2 separate regions of the Homo sapiens genome follow, and region 2 is linked to region 1. The links are contacts of gene promoters, found by promoter capture Hi-C in human tissues and cell types (Jung and others, 2019). All regions are on one chromosome and are shown on one strand. The core of a region is centred on a gene start or on the middle of the fragment in contact, and the rest is flanking DNA. Distances in the headings are between cores, read along the strand shown.

Region 1 (6,099 bases), core at 3,265-5,764:
GGCTTCAGGCCGGGCACAGTGGCTCACACCTGTAATCCCAGCACTTTGGGACGCCAAGGTGGGTGGATCACCTGAGGTCAGGAGTTCGAGACCAGTTTGGCCAACATGGTGAAACCTTGGCTCTACTAAAAATACAAAAATTAGCTGGGTGTGGTGGCACACGCCTGTAATCCCAGCTACTTGGGAGGCTGAGGCAGGAGAATTGCTTGAACCCAGGAGGCAGAGGTTGCAGTGAGCCAAGATCGTGTCATTGCACTCCAGCCTGGGCAACAAGAGCAAAACTCCATCTCAAAAGAAAAAAAAAAAAAAAAAAAGAATGAGGCTTCAGAGTGGAGAGGAGGGAGCAGCAGACAGAGGATAATTCACAAAGCGGTTACCATGAAGCTAAACTTTGAGGGGTAAGTTAACTTCCCCAGGTAGGAGGGGACTCTGGGTAGAGTGGGCACCATGCACAGGGGCATGAGACAACAGGGGATGAAGTAATGTCTTTAAGGTGATGGTGAAAAAACCAGCGGCGAACATGTCAGGAAGAGCCCTGATGTCCAGGAACCTAGGAAAGGGCAGCACTTCCACACCCACCCCTTTTCACAGGGTTTTTTGTGAGCTGGGTGGTGCCAACTGCTATTACAGAGAAACCCCAACTCAGTGCTTTGACCCAACAAGCATATGATTTTTTGCACACATTAGAGTTCAACATGAATGATGGGTGAGCAGCTTTTCATGAAGTGATTGAGGGACCTAAACGCCTTCAAAACTGTGTCTCCCCCACCCCGAGGGCCTCAGAGTCCTGGCTGACGATCAGCAAAGGGGAAAGGTGGAAGGTGGACAGTTGCACAGGGGTGTCTACCTGCCACACCTTGAAGTGACTCATGTCCCTTCCATCTACACCCTATCATCACACGGCCCCACCTAGATGGGAGGAGGGATGGGGAATGAAGTCCCCAGCTGGACAGCTGCTTCCTAGGAACATGTCTACTACATGTTCATGTACTCTGGAGGAGAAATGTGACTCTTGGTGGACAGCTAGCTGTTTCTGCCACAGGCCCTCACATTAGTCCATCAGACTACAGGGCAGAACTGAAAAGCTGTAGCCGGGCGCAGCGGCTCACCCCTGTAATCCCAGCACTTTGGGAAGCTGAGGCGGGTGGATCACCTGAGGTCAGGAGTTCGAGACCAGCCTCAACATGGAGAAACCCCATCTCTACTAAAAATACAAAATTAGCCAGGCGTAGTGGTACATGCCTATACTCCCAGCTACTCGGGAGGCTGAGGCAGGAGAATTGCTTGAACCTGGGAAGTGGAGATTGTGGTGAGCCAAGATCGCACCATTGCACTCCAGCCTGGGCAACAAGAGCAAAACTCTGTCTCAAAAAAAAAAAAAAGAAGAAGAAGAAGCTGTGGTCAGTGAAGTCTATGGAAATGGAGTGTCAAGGTGCAGTCTAGACAGAGTATATAGCCAATAAATGCTTGGTGAATGAATGAATGAATGAGAAGTGCTTTATGCCTCATTCCCAGCTAGCTGGCAGGGAAGGGAGCATTCTCATTTTTCCTGCCGTCAGACACATTGCTTCCTGTACCTGATGTCTGAGTCCATTCAGGCTTCTATTACAGAATACCATAAACTGGTGACTTATAAATGACAGAAATTTATTTCTCACAGCTCTGGAGGCTGGGAAGTCCAAGATCAAGGTGCCAGTAGATTCAGTGTCTGCTGAAAGCCCACTTCCTAGTTGATGGAGGCATCTTCTCACAGTGTCCTCACGTGGTAGAAGGGCCAAAAAGCTCCCTGAGACCATTTCACAAGGGCAGTAATCTCATTCCTGAGGGCTCCCCTCTTACGACCTAATCACATCCGAAAGGTCCCACCTCCTAACCATCACCTTGGGAGATTCAAGATTGAATTTTGGGGAGGACACAACATTCAGTCCGTAGCACCTGGAGAGGAAATGTGACCACAGGAATAGAAAGAGGGATGCCCAGAGAGAAGAGGTCTAAGTAACTGCAAATCTGGTCTGTACCTATGAATATTCTGTCCATTTAATTCAACTTCTTTGGGATTAGGGCTACACAGACCTTCTGCAGGATTTGGAAAACCCAACGCATGACTGAGTGGTTAGAAATGGTTTGAAATAGCCTGGAAAGACTCCAGGGAGGAGAGAACGGAGCGCGCGCGTGCACACACACACACACACACACACACACACACGCAGAGCCGGGGCTTATCTCTAATCTCCATGCGGATTTTAATCCAGCCTTGCATGTAATCGCCTCATAACTCCACATTTCCAATTTATTAATCAAATGCCATCTATGAGGCAATGTTGCGGGCCCCACCGGTGTTTCTGCATTTGATGGTTGCTGAATATCTATGCTTCAGCAACTTCCATCCACGCCAAACAAGAGAAAAACAACCGCCACCTTTTCTCCCCAGAGCAAATTCACACTCAGCAAGGATAATCACAAATCCTCCACAGGTGAACAAATCAGAATAAATGAGGAGTCAACACACCCACCAAGGCCTGTGAGTTACGGTATCAAGGCAGCTGTCAGGGAGGGTCGTGGGTTAGGGAGTGCCTCCCTCTTCTAATCACAGGCACCATTTGAAAAATGCAGGAGAGGGGCCAGCTGCGTCTGCCAGGGAGACTGCTATAAGTCGTCTGTGTGCTTGTTCCCTGGCATCCCAGGGTCAGGAGTCCTGAAGCTCATCTGGCAGCTGCTGCGACAAAATCTTTCTGATGGCTCAAGACATTGGCCTCTATGATCTCATTTACATTCATTGTGTGTGCATTAGAAGGGGAGATATTAATACAAAAGCATGGCTATAGAAAAGGGATGAATTGTTTTTATTCAAACACAGAATGGTCAGTAGCAGACCCAAGGTTGTACTACTTGGAGATAAAAGTCTTTAACTCTGGGCCCTAATGCTGTCCCTGCTCCCCACCTGCCTGCCAGACTTCCACCTCCTCCTCATCTGATCCAGCAATCCAGCACACACAGGCTTGGCTGGGATGTGTGCAGAGAGGAGAGCCAGGCTCAGCCAGCTCCTAGCTTGGTGCCCCTGTAGAATGGTGCTTTAGAAATACGTGCTGCACAGATGAGCATGTGACTTAGTCCATGCCCTCCTCTCCTCATTGCCTCCAGCAACTTTCCTAAAGGGAAGGTAAAGTCTTGTCATCCCCCTGCTCCCTTCCCTACAGTGTGGAAATGCCTGGGAATTTCTGCCCTTGGACCTCCAAGCCACGCCCCTTGGGAAAGTGCCAGGATAGTGGTGGGGTGCTCAGAGGTGGGGACTCCCAGTTACCTGCTTTGGGTGACTCTGGCCTTAGCTGGCCCTGAGGTGGAGGCCGCCTGGGAACTGTGGGTCAGAGGAAGTCAGCTTCAGCTCCCTCAAATGTGGGGATCTTCCATCCCCAAGTGACCCACTCAATCTTTGGGGCTGTCGTGCTGTGAACTGGTCAAGAGAAGTATATGATCCAACTCCTGACTCAAGAATCTTGCCTGCTTGATGGATGAAGAGGGAAGGCGGATGGAACCAGCTGAGTGGAACCAGCCACAGAGCAAGCACGAAGTGACAAATCACCCAGGGACGAAATCATGCAGGCAGGCAGGTGGGCAACCTGAGTCCATTTCATCAGCCATTGTTTAATTTATTCTTGGTTGTACTTTCTGCTTTATTTCCAACACAATCAAAACCAGATGTGTGCAAAAGTCACGCTATCACCCAGCACAGGATTACCTAAGATCTATTATAATGCAGCTTCATGCCCATTACAGTATTCCCATGCCCCTCACAGGGCAGTGTGCATCTGTTTTAGTGCTACCTAATGTCTGTTAGGTGCAAGCTGGCCCACACATGGCTTCTAGGCAGAACAGTCTACAAGTGACAGCGTGACCAGAGAGCAGAGACAGGAAGGAGGCCCAGACATGAGTGTGGGATGCTGCAGAACAGCAACAGGATGCTTCTGCTATCCCCAAATGTTATCTCAAATACCTCAACGTCAATGCTTTCTGTTCCATGTTCCTCTTCTCCCTGGACAGCCCCTCCTTCTGAAAGTCAGAACTGTCTGCTCTTGAGCTTGCCTTGAGGGAAGGAAATAATTTAGATAAGCAGAGAGGAAGACAGGCAAGGGATGTGGTGGGGCAAAGGCGGAGATGTATCTTCACAGGTCCCTGTCCTCAGCACCCAGAATCACCCCTTCCCTGTAGGAGGGAGCTGATAGAAAGAGGGGATCTCCATCCAGGAGCCACCCACCAGGCAGCTGGAAACATTTGCCAACAGCAGGTACACCTAGGGCTCAGCAGAGGGTTGGGTGAGAATGGTCTTGCCCAGTTTGTGCCACACTGAGCACCGGCTGGAGGAGGAAGCGGACAGAATGCCATCTGGACACAAGTGCTCCCTCACTGCCTGGGCCTGGGTCGCCTCAGGCTTTTGTGTCAGATCAGCCACTCCCTCTACAGATAATGCTGCTCCAGGCAAAGAGGCTTAGGTGGGTCTCCAGGGCAACCGCAGCTCAGGAGCTGGCCCGCCTCCATGGTTCATCAGGGAAGCTGTGGCTCCAGCCTCGCGGGATACATACACGCATACACACACACACACACACACACACACACACACACACACACACACCTACACACCCCACAAACAATAGTCCAGGCTGGATCTCTCCTCCTGTCTCTTCTCTTGGTAAAACTTCTCAGAGAACCAAAGAGAGGCAAAATTTGAGGCCAGCCGGCAGCAGCAGAGAAGCTGAGGGAGACTTGAGGATGTAGACTGCCCTGCCCTGCTGTGGCTGCTCAACTTTCTTTTTTTTTCCTGAAAATATCCAGACACTCTCTTCTCCCAGACTGGGAAGCAGAACGCAGGCCCCCTGCTGTGACGCTGCACCTGAGCAGAGGCTGACCTCAGAGGTAAGATGGAGGTCTCCCCAGGAGACAGTGTCTTCCCCACCCGCACCCTGGCACAGCTGCACCTTTGGAAGTTAGGGCTGAGGCTTGAAGCTGGGTGGGGTGGCCTCAAGGGGTGTGGCAGGCTGGGGAGCCTAGAAAGCCGCCCACCTCCGGGACCCAGATGGCCACAGGAAGGCCCCTTTAGTCCTCATCAGTTCCACAGGAGTTGGAACCGATGAGGGTCCTGCAGCTTCCTCGGGGCTATAGCCTGCTCCTTGTTTTGTAAACCTGTGGGAAGCCATTGTTTTTGCCTGTTCTGGAACTGCAAGCCTCTCGGGGAGGACCCAGCTCCAGCAGGTTCCTTTCTGCCTTTATAGAGTGGACACAGGCAGGGGGAAGGAAAGCGAAACCCAAATCAGAGACTCTTGCATGGGTTTGCGAACTGTGATTCGAGCATCTACTAAGTCCAAGGCACAGAGTCAGGCTCTGGGGATGCAGCAGCACCCAGGGCACGAGGGTGATGGATGTGCCTCAGTCCCCTCGAACATGGAGCAGTCTGTGCATCCCTGATAACATGCCCAGGAGAGTGGGCCCAGGCAGATGGGTGCAGGGTGGGGCGCCAGGGAGATCGGGCCTAGAAGGAAAGTCCAGCTGCGACCAAGGGATGAGGGTCAGTCCCCTCCCACTGTGGTCAGTCAGACCTGTGTACACGCCCTCTCCTGGCTGCACCTCTGCCTCAGAATGGGAAGGACTGGCTGCCATTCACTCATTCATTCAGGAACCGCTTATCAAGTGCTACCATGTGCAGCAGATTCAACCCACATTCCTCTCGCCCTTGCAGAATTCATAGCTAGGTGGGGAAGAGATAAATACAACCCAAAGCGTGAGAAACGTGTTTGCTAGATGCCATGGTGATGGGCCCTTGTGTCAGGCCCTGGTGGCTGGGATCAGTGCTCCATGGGTGGGGGGAAGTGAGGGGCCGGCTGCAGGGAGGAGTTGTCTCTTGAGGGGTTCCCGACAAATGAGCAGATGTCTGTCAGGTGGGCAGAGGATCCACAGGTCAGGCCCGCTCATATCTGGCTTGGTGGATTATAGGTTGTTTTTCTGTGATGCCAAAGAGAAATAAGGTCAATTTGCAATCTGTAAAGTTGGACTTGGGCCTTATCAAACACAGAGCTGGGAGGCAGATTAGCCAGAGAAGCACCTACTCTC
Region 2 (5,838 bases), core at 60-2,559, 1.0 Mb after region 1:
ACAAAATAATTTTTTAATCCTTCAGAATAGGAAAGTTGCACTCAGAACATCTTCCCTTTCACAGAAGAAATGTTTGAAAAGCAGGATGTATCCAAGGCTCCAGTGATCTATGCAGATCTTCCATACATTTTCCCCAGTTGGCACCCTTCCCAATAGCTTTAATGGCCATATCCTCACTGTTTCCCACCCCCCCCACCTGAGACGCAGTCTTGCTCTGTCGCCCAGGCTGGAGTGCAGTGGCGCAATCTTGGCTCACTGCAACCTCTGCCTCCCAGGTTGAAGCAATTCTCCTCCCTCAGCCTCCCAAGTAGCTGGAATTACAGGCGTCCACCATCATGCCCCGCTAATTTTTGTAGTTTTAGTAGAGATGGGGTTCACCATGTTGGCCAGGCTGGCTTTGAACTCCTGACCTTGTGATCCAACCACCTCGGCCTCCCAAAGTGCAGGATAACAGGGGTGAGCCACCACGCCAAGCCCATATTCTCACTGTTGAATCCCAAATACGTATCGCTAACTTTGATATTTCCCCCGAATTCCAGAACTGTGGATGCATCCTCCCTCTGGAAATCTCCACTTCCTCTCTGTCCCTGTGGCCCGACACAGCACCTGGCACCCAACATTTAGAGAGCGAATTAGCGAGTAGAAATTTCTTTATGGAGACCTAATGAAACTTTGATGAACTGATGTGAATTAAATGACCATCACTTTTTCAATGATCACAGTTACATTTGAGGAAGGTCAGCACTTACATAACTCACAATCATCTAGCCCGTCTAGCCTCCCTTAATATGCCCTGTGTCACAAAATTAGTAACAGTTTAGGACTGGAACACTCAGCTTCTCTCTCCCAATGAAAAGTAATTCATTACAGCCATGAAGGAGCAGAGGGAGGCTCCCTCTAAACCTGAGGACTCAGGGGAAGCAGCTCAGAAGTGAGATGTTTTGGAGGAATTAACTAGGTAAAGAAAACCTGAAGCAATGGCATAGACAAAGCATGAAGAAATGAACCATCCCAGCGCAGCTGGGGAGGAAAAAGTGTAGACGGGAATGGTGATGCAACTTCAGCGACGGGAAAGGCATGATCAGAAAGGGTCACACTCGTCAGCCACGAAGCACGACTTTATAGAGGAAGACCTGGGAAATCAAATAAGAAAATTATATGATTTATTTTGTGTTTTTGAAAGATTGGTCTGTTTAGAAAAAAAAAAAAAGTAGAGGATGAGCTTTGTTCCTAAGGGGGGAAAAGGCAGAAAAAGGAGCTAGATAGAGAAGACAGAACAGCATGGCCAGAGGCCAGAGTCTGAGTGTCAGACATGGCAGAGGGACCCGGGAGGTCCGACCACCAATTTTAAGCTGCTTGTGGAATTGTCTCCTAAACCTTTATTAAAGTCCTCTAACACACGCTGCATCTAAATGATTTTTGTTGGTGGTTGTGTGTGTCATGCATGGTGTGTGTGTACAAATTAAGAAAAATAGCCAAATGCCACATGAGAGCCAGGGTGATGTTCAGTGGGGACAGTGATATGATCCCCAAACAGAACCAATTCCATGTATGCATGAGGTGAGGGACAGAAGCGGTTCAGGAATAAATGTCTCAGGACAGCACTGAGCCCCGCTCCATCTAGGGAATAGAGAGTCAGGTCCACCTTATCTAGAAATTAAGGGGCTGGGAGACCCTCACTGCTGAAATCCACTGACAATCCAACCTACAGCCTATATATAAAAACATGTTCTACATAAAATCTGAAAACTAGAGTAAGTTGAGAATTTTTTTAATTTCACAGGAAAATTTAATGAAAAACAGTTTAAAGTAAGATTCAGGGAAATCATGAAAGCTGGGATGAGAATGGCTACTTTGGTAGACTCTCTCTCTCTGGTCTAGAAGCAACACCCATCCTGCCTCCTCCAATCTCAATACTTCGTAAATTGCCCTGGAGAGGCTGAATATTAGGCTAATTTGGTCTAATTTGAATTGCTTAAATGACTAGCTATCTTTTACTGCCACCTCCTGGCCCCTTCTAGTATGTCTACCCTAAACTATTACGCTAAGACTGATAAACCCTCATATGCACACACAAAATACCAATTACATTCAAGAATCTCTTAATTGCTGGGTGCAGTGGCTCACGTCTGTAATCCCAACACTTTGGGAAACTGAGGTGTGCAGATCACCTGAGGTCAGGAGTTCAAGACCAGCCTGGCCAACATAGTGAAACCCCGTCTCTACTAAAAATACAAAAATTAGCCAGGCATGGTGGCAGGCGCCTGCAGTCCCAGCTACTCAGGCAGCTGAGCCAGGAGAATCACTTGAACCAGGAAGGCAGAGGTTGCAGTGAGTACTGAGATCGAGCTACCGCATTACAGGCTGAGTGACAGAACGAGACTTCATCTCAAAAAAAAAAAAAAAAGAACCTCTAACCAAATAAACTGTCAAATTAAACTATCACCACATTGCAGATGGAAAGTTATGCTACCGAGTGGGAGTCCCTGATCGAGGCAGCTGGTCATCCAGCCACATCCCCTTCAAGGTGGCTGTACACTGACAGTCACCTCAGCCAGGGTCTGGGTCCTCCGCTTTGTGGGTCAGGAGCCTCATCTGTCAGCACCCTGAGACAGATCTGTGTCTAGGGGTAGACACACATTAACCCAGCTCATAGAGACAGATCTATATTACCAGAATGTGGGGCCTCGTATCTTCTCTAAGTCAGCCACATAAGAAGTCAAATTATGCACTCAGAGAGCTTGGTGAGAAAGAAATCAGGGCCAGGACACTGGCCCTGGTTCAAGAACCTGGATCTTCAGTGACTTCAAGCTCTGAAAGCTGGAGGCACCTGTCTCCTCCACAGGGATATTCTGCCACCTGACATGACAAAGCAAATTGCTGAACCAGGACATCTTTCCTCAGCCAATGCTTGACTGGGAATTGTCAGGATTTGCCTTTTGGATGTTTCCTTGTCTAATTCTGACTAAACCAACTCCCTTTCTGATCGGCAAAATCTTTCCAAGGGTATGATTAAAGCCTCCAATTAAATTATCCTCAATCAAGTGCGCACCAAAATACATGTTTCTAATCCATCGTGCACTGATATAAAAGTCTTCTCTCTGTAGTGGGCTGTATTTTCCCTTTTTCCAAGCTTTGGAAGCACCCTATGGTAGTCTCCTGTAATTACTTGTAATAAACCAGTAGAGATAATGTCCATTTGTTGAAAAGCTTACAGACAGCTTGCACATCTACTGTCACAGCTATTCCTCTCAACCACCATATGAGGTTCTCTGTGTAAGTACTATGATTCTTATTTTACAGATAAGTACACTGAGATTCAGAGATGATAAGTGGTTTTCCCAACGTCACAGAATTAGTGGATATGGGGTTAAGACTAAAGCTCAGATCTTCAGACCCCAAATGAGTCTATTGAGGATACTTGCTTTTAACAACCTATAAAGGGGTTTAGCCTGACCCGCTGCACTACTCATATATTCAACAAATATTTATGGAGTGTCAATTATTAGCTATCTATTGTTTTAGGCAGTGGGGACACCATGACAAACAAGTTCACTAAGGTTCCTATGTCCATGGAACATAGACTCTGGGATGGAAGGCAGACAAAAGAGGAAAATTTCACATGGCAATGAGTCCTACGCACAGAAAAAAATCTGGTGATGCAGAACGCTGGTTGTCTGTTTCTCTTTGAGTCACCAAGGACAGCTTCTTTGGGGCAATGACATTTAAGCAGAGATGGGAATGACAGGAAGTCATATGATGACGAAAGGCAAGAGCATTCTAAGATGAAGGAACAGCTCATAAAAGCGCCCTGCGGTGGCACCATGCTTGCTCTTTCTGAAGATGAGCAGGAAGCCCACAGTGCAGGAGCACAGAGGCCGGGGCAAGGGTGGGAGGAGATGAGTCACGGTGGCAGGTGCCGGACCACGTGGTGTTTTGTTAAGGAGGATCAGACTGGCTTTATTCTAAGCTCAATGAAAAGCCAGCACACAACTGCAGAAACATTCTGCTTTTTAACAAGGTCACATCATTGTAGAGCAAGTTTTACACCCCACAATCCCAAAGTCCTGATCGTCCCATTATTCCTAGCATCCAGTGATTGGTATCTTGGTTAATATGGTATTTTTTCCATAAACAGGAAGAACATATTTGAAAGGCTTCAAACAATAATCTTTCAAGAAGAAAAGTTTCTGCTATCTAAAAACTCATATATATAAGCGGTAGGTTCATAACCTCAATACTCAGGCAATCTGACCTCCAAGAAGCCCTGTAAGGCTCCCGTGAGGCCCCAGTTGTCTTTTGGGAAAGCTCAGTTCCAAAAGGCTGGGGACGAGGCCAGAGTTCCACACCCTCGCCCACCCGACAAGAGAATCTCCCACAGGCTCCGCCCTTTGCGCTCTTCCCACAGTTGGCTGCTTAGATGGCCCCTGACTGCAGCTTGCTCCATATTCAAAGATAGAGCCTGGGGGAGGGATAGCATTAGGAGATATATCTAATGTTAAATGATGAGTTAATGGATGCAGCACACCAACATGGCACATGAATACATATGTAACTAACCTGCACGTTGTGCACATGTACCCTAAAACTTACAGAATTAAAAAAAAAAAAGAGCCTGTAACTGTCCAAGAGCAAAGGAATGTTCACAAGCACCCTAAGAGGATAGCAGGGAAGGAGAATCCAGAAAATAGAGAAGGGTGGGGCAGGTGGCAGGAGATGTCTAGCCTTCTAAATAGAAATCAATTGCATTAACAAAAAATCAGTCCACCACCAACCACCTCTCTCAAACACTGCTGATGTCAACAAAGAAAAATGACACTACCTTCCCTCAAGTCTGGTTTGGCAATGAGTTGCAAAAGCCTTTGACCTAGGAAATTACCCTGAGGAAATCATCCCAGGTGAATTTTAAAAGGGTTATGTAAATATGTTCACTAAAGCCTTATTTATAATGAGGCAAAATTTTAAATAATCAACAACAGAGAATTGGTTAACTAAATTACAGTAAAGCCATAGAAAGGAATACCTTAAAACTAGTAAAAAATATACTCTAAAAGAATGAAATTTAAAAGATTATTTCACCACATGAGGAAAAGTTCATAATACGGTAAGCTTTCAAAGTAGGTTGAAAGCTCTGAAGCCAAGGTGACCTTTTAAAAGGAAAAAAAGAAAATAGTCTGTAAAGAACATAGGGCTTGCAAATCCTTGTAGATTATCTGGACAAAATGCAGAAGGCAAATAGTAAAGGCAGAGGGGGCTAGGGAGAGATACTAGCACAATTCTATTTTATATTCTCCGCACTATTATGCTCACTAGTCAACAAGTGACCACTGTTTGAAACTCGTTTGTGTGTTGGTTGGGCACAGTAGCTCATGCCTGTAATCCCAGCACTTTGGGAGGCCGAGTCAGGCAGATCACACAGTCAGGAGTTCAAGACCAGCCTGACCAACATGGTGAAACCCCGTCTCTACTAAAAATACAAAAATTAGCTGGGTGTGATGGTGCATACCTGTAATCCCATCTACTCAGGAGGCTAAGGCAGGAGAATCGCTTGAACCCAGGAGACGGAGGTTGCAGTGAGCCGAGATCGTGCCACTGCACTCCAGCCTGGGCAACAGAGTGAGACTCTGTCTCAGGAGAAAGAAAAACAAAAAAACCTCATTTGTGTGTTATATATCGGCTGGGCATGGTGGTTCACGTCTGTAAACTCAGCACTTTGGGAGGCTGAGGTGGAAGGATTGCTCAAATCCAGGAGTTTGAGGCCAGCCTGGGCAAAATAGTGACACCCAGTCTCTATTTAAAAATGTGTGTGTGTGCAGAAATACAAACTACCATCAGAGA

The links. The method cuts DNA at HindIII sites, captures the fragments that hold promoters and counts their contacts. A contact is called where the count stands out against the background at its distance.
Region 2: a contact is called between a fragment that was not itself captured here and the fragment with the promoter of RD3 in region 1, in 1 of the 25 tissues and cell types used here (mesenchymal stem cells).

What each region holds. Positions count from the first base shown.
Region 1 is chr1:211,490,577-211,496,675 of GRCh38, reverse strand. RD3 (RD3 regulator of GUCY2D) reads left to right here and starts at 4,514. Exons shown (of 3, transcript NM_001164688.2): 1 at 4,514-4,908. The HindIII fragment of the contact is 12,360 bases long and covers 1-6,099 here.
Region 2 is chr1:210,444,651-210,450,488 of GRCh38, reverse strand. The region is part of intron 7 of HHAT (hedgehog acyltransferase); the gene reads right to left. Among named protein-coding and RNA genes, the nearest start is that of HHAT, 120 kb to the right of the region's middle. The HindIII fragment of the contact is 5,703 bases long and covers 1-4,160 here.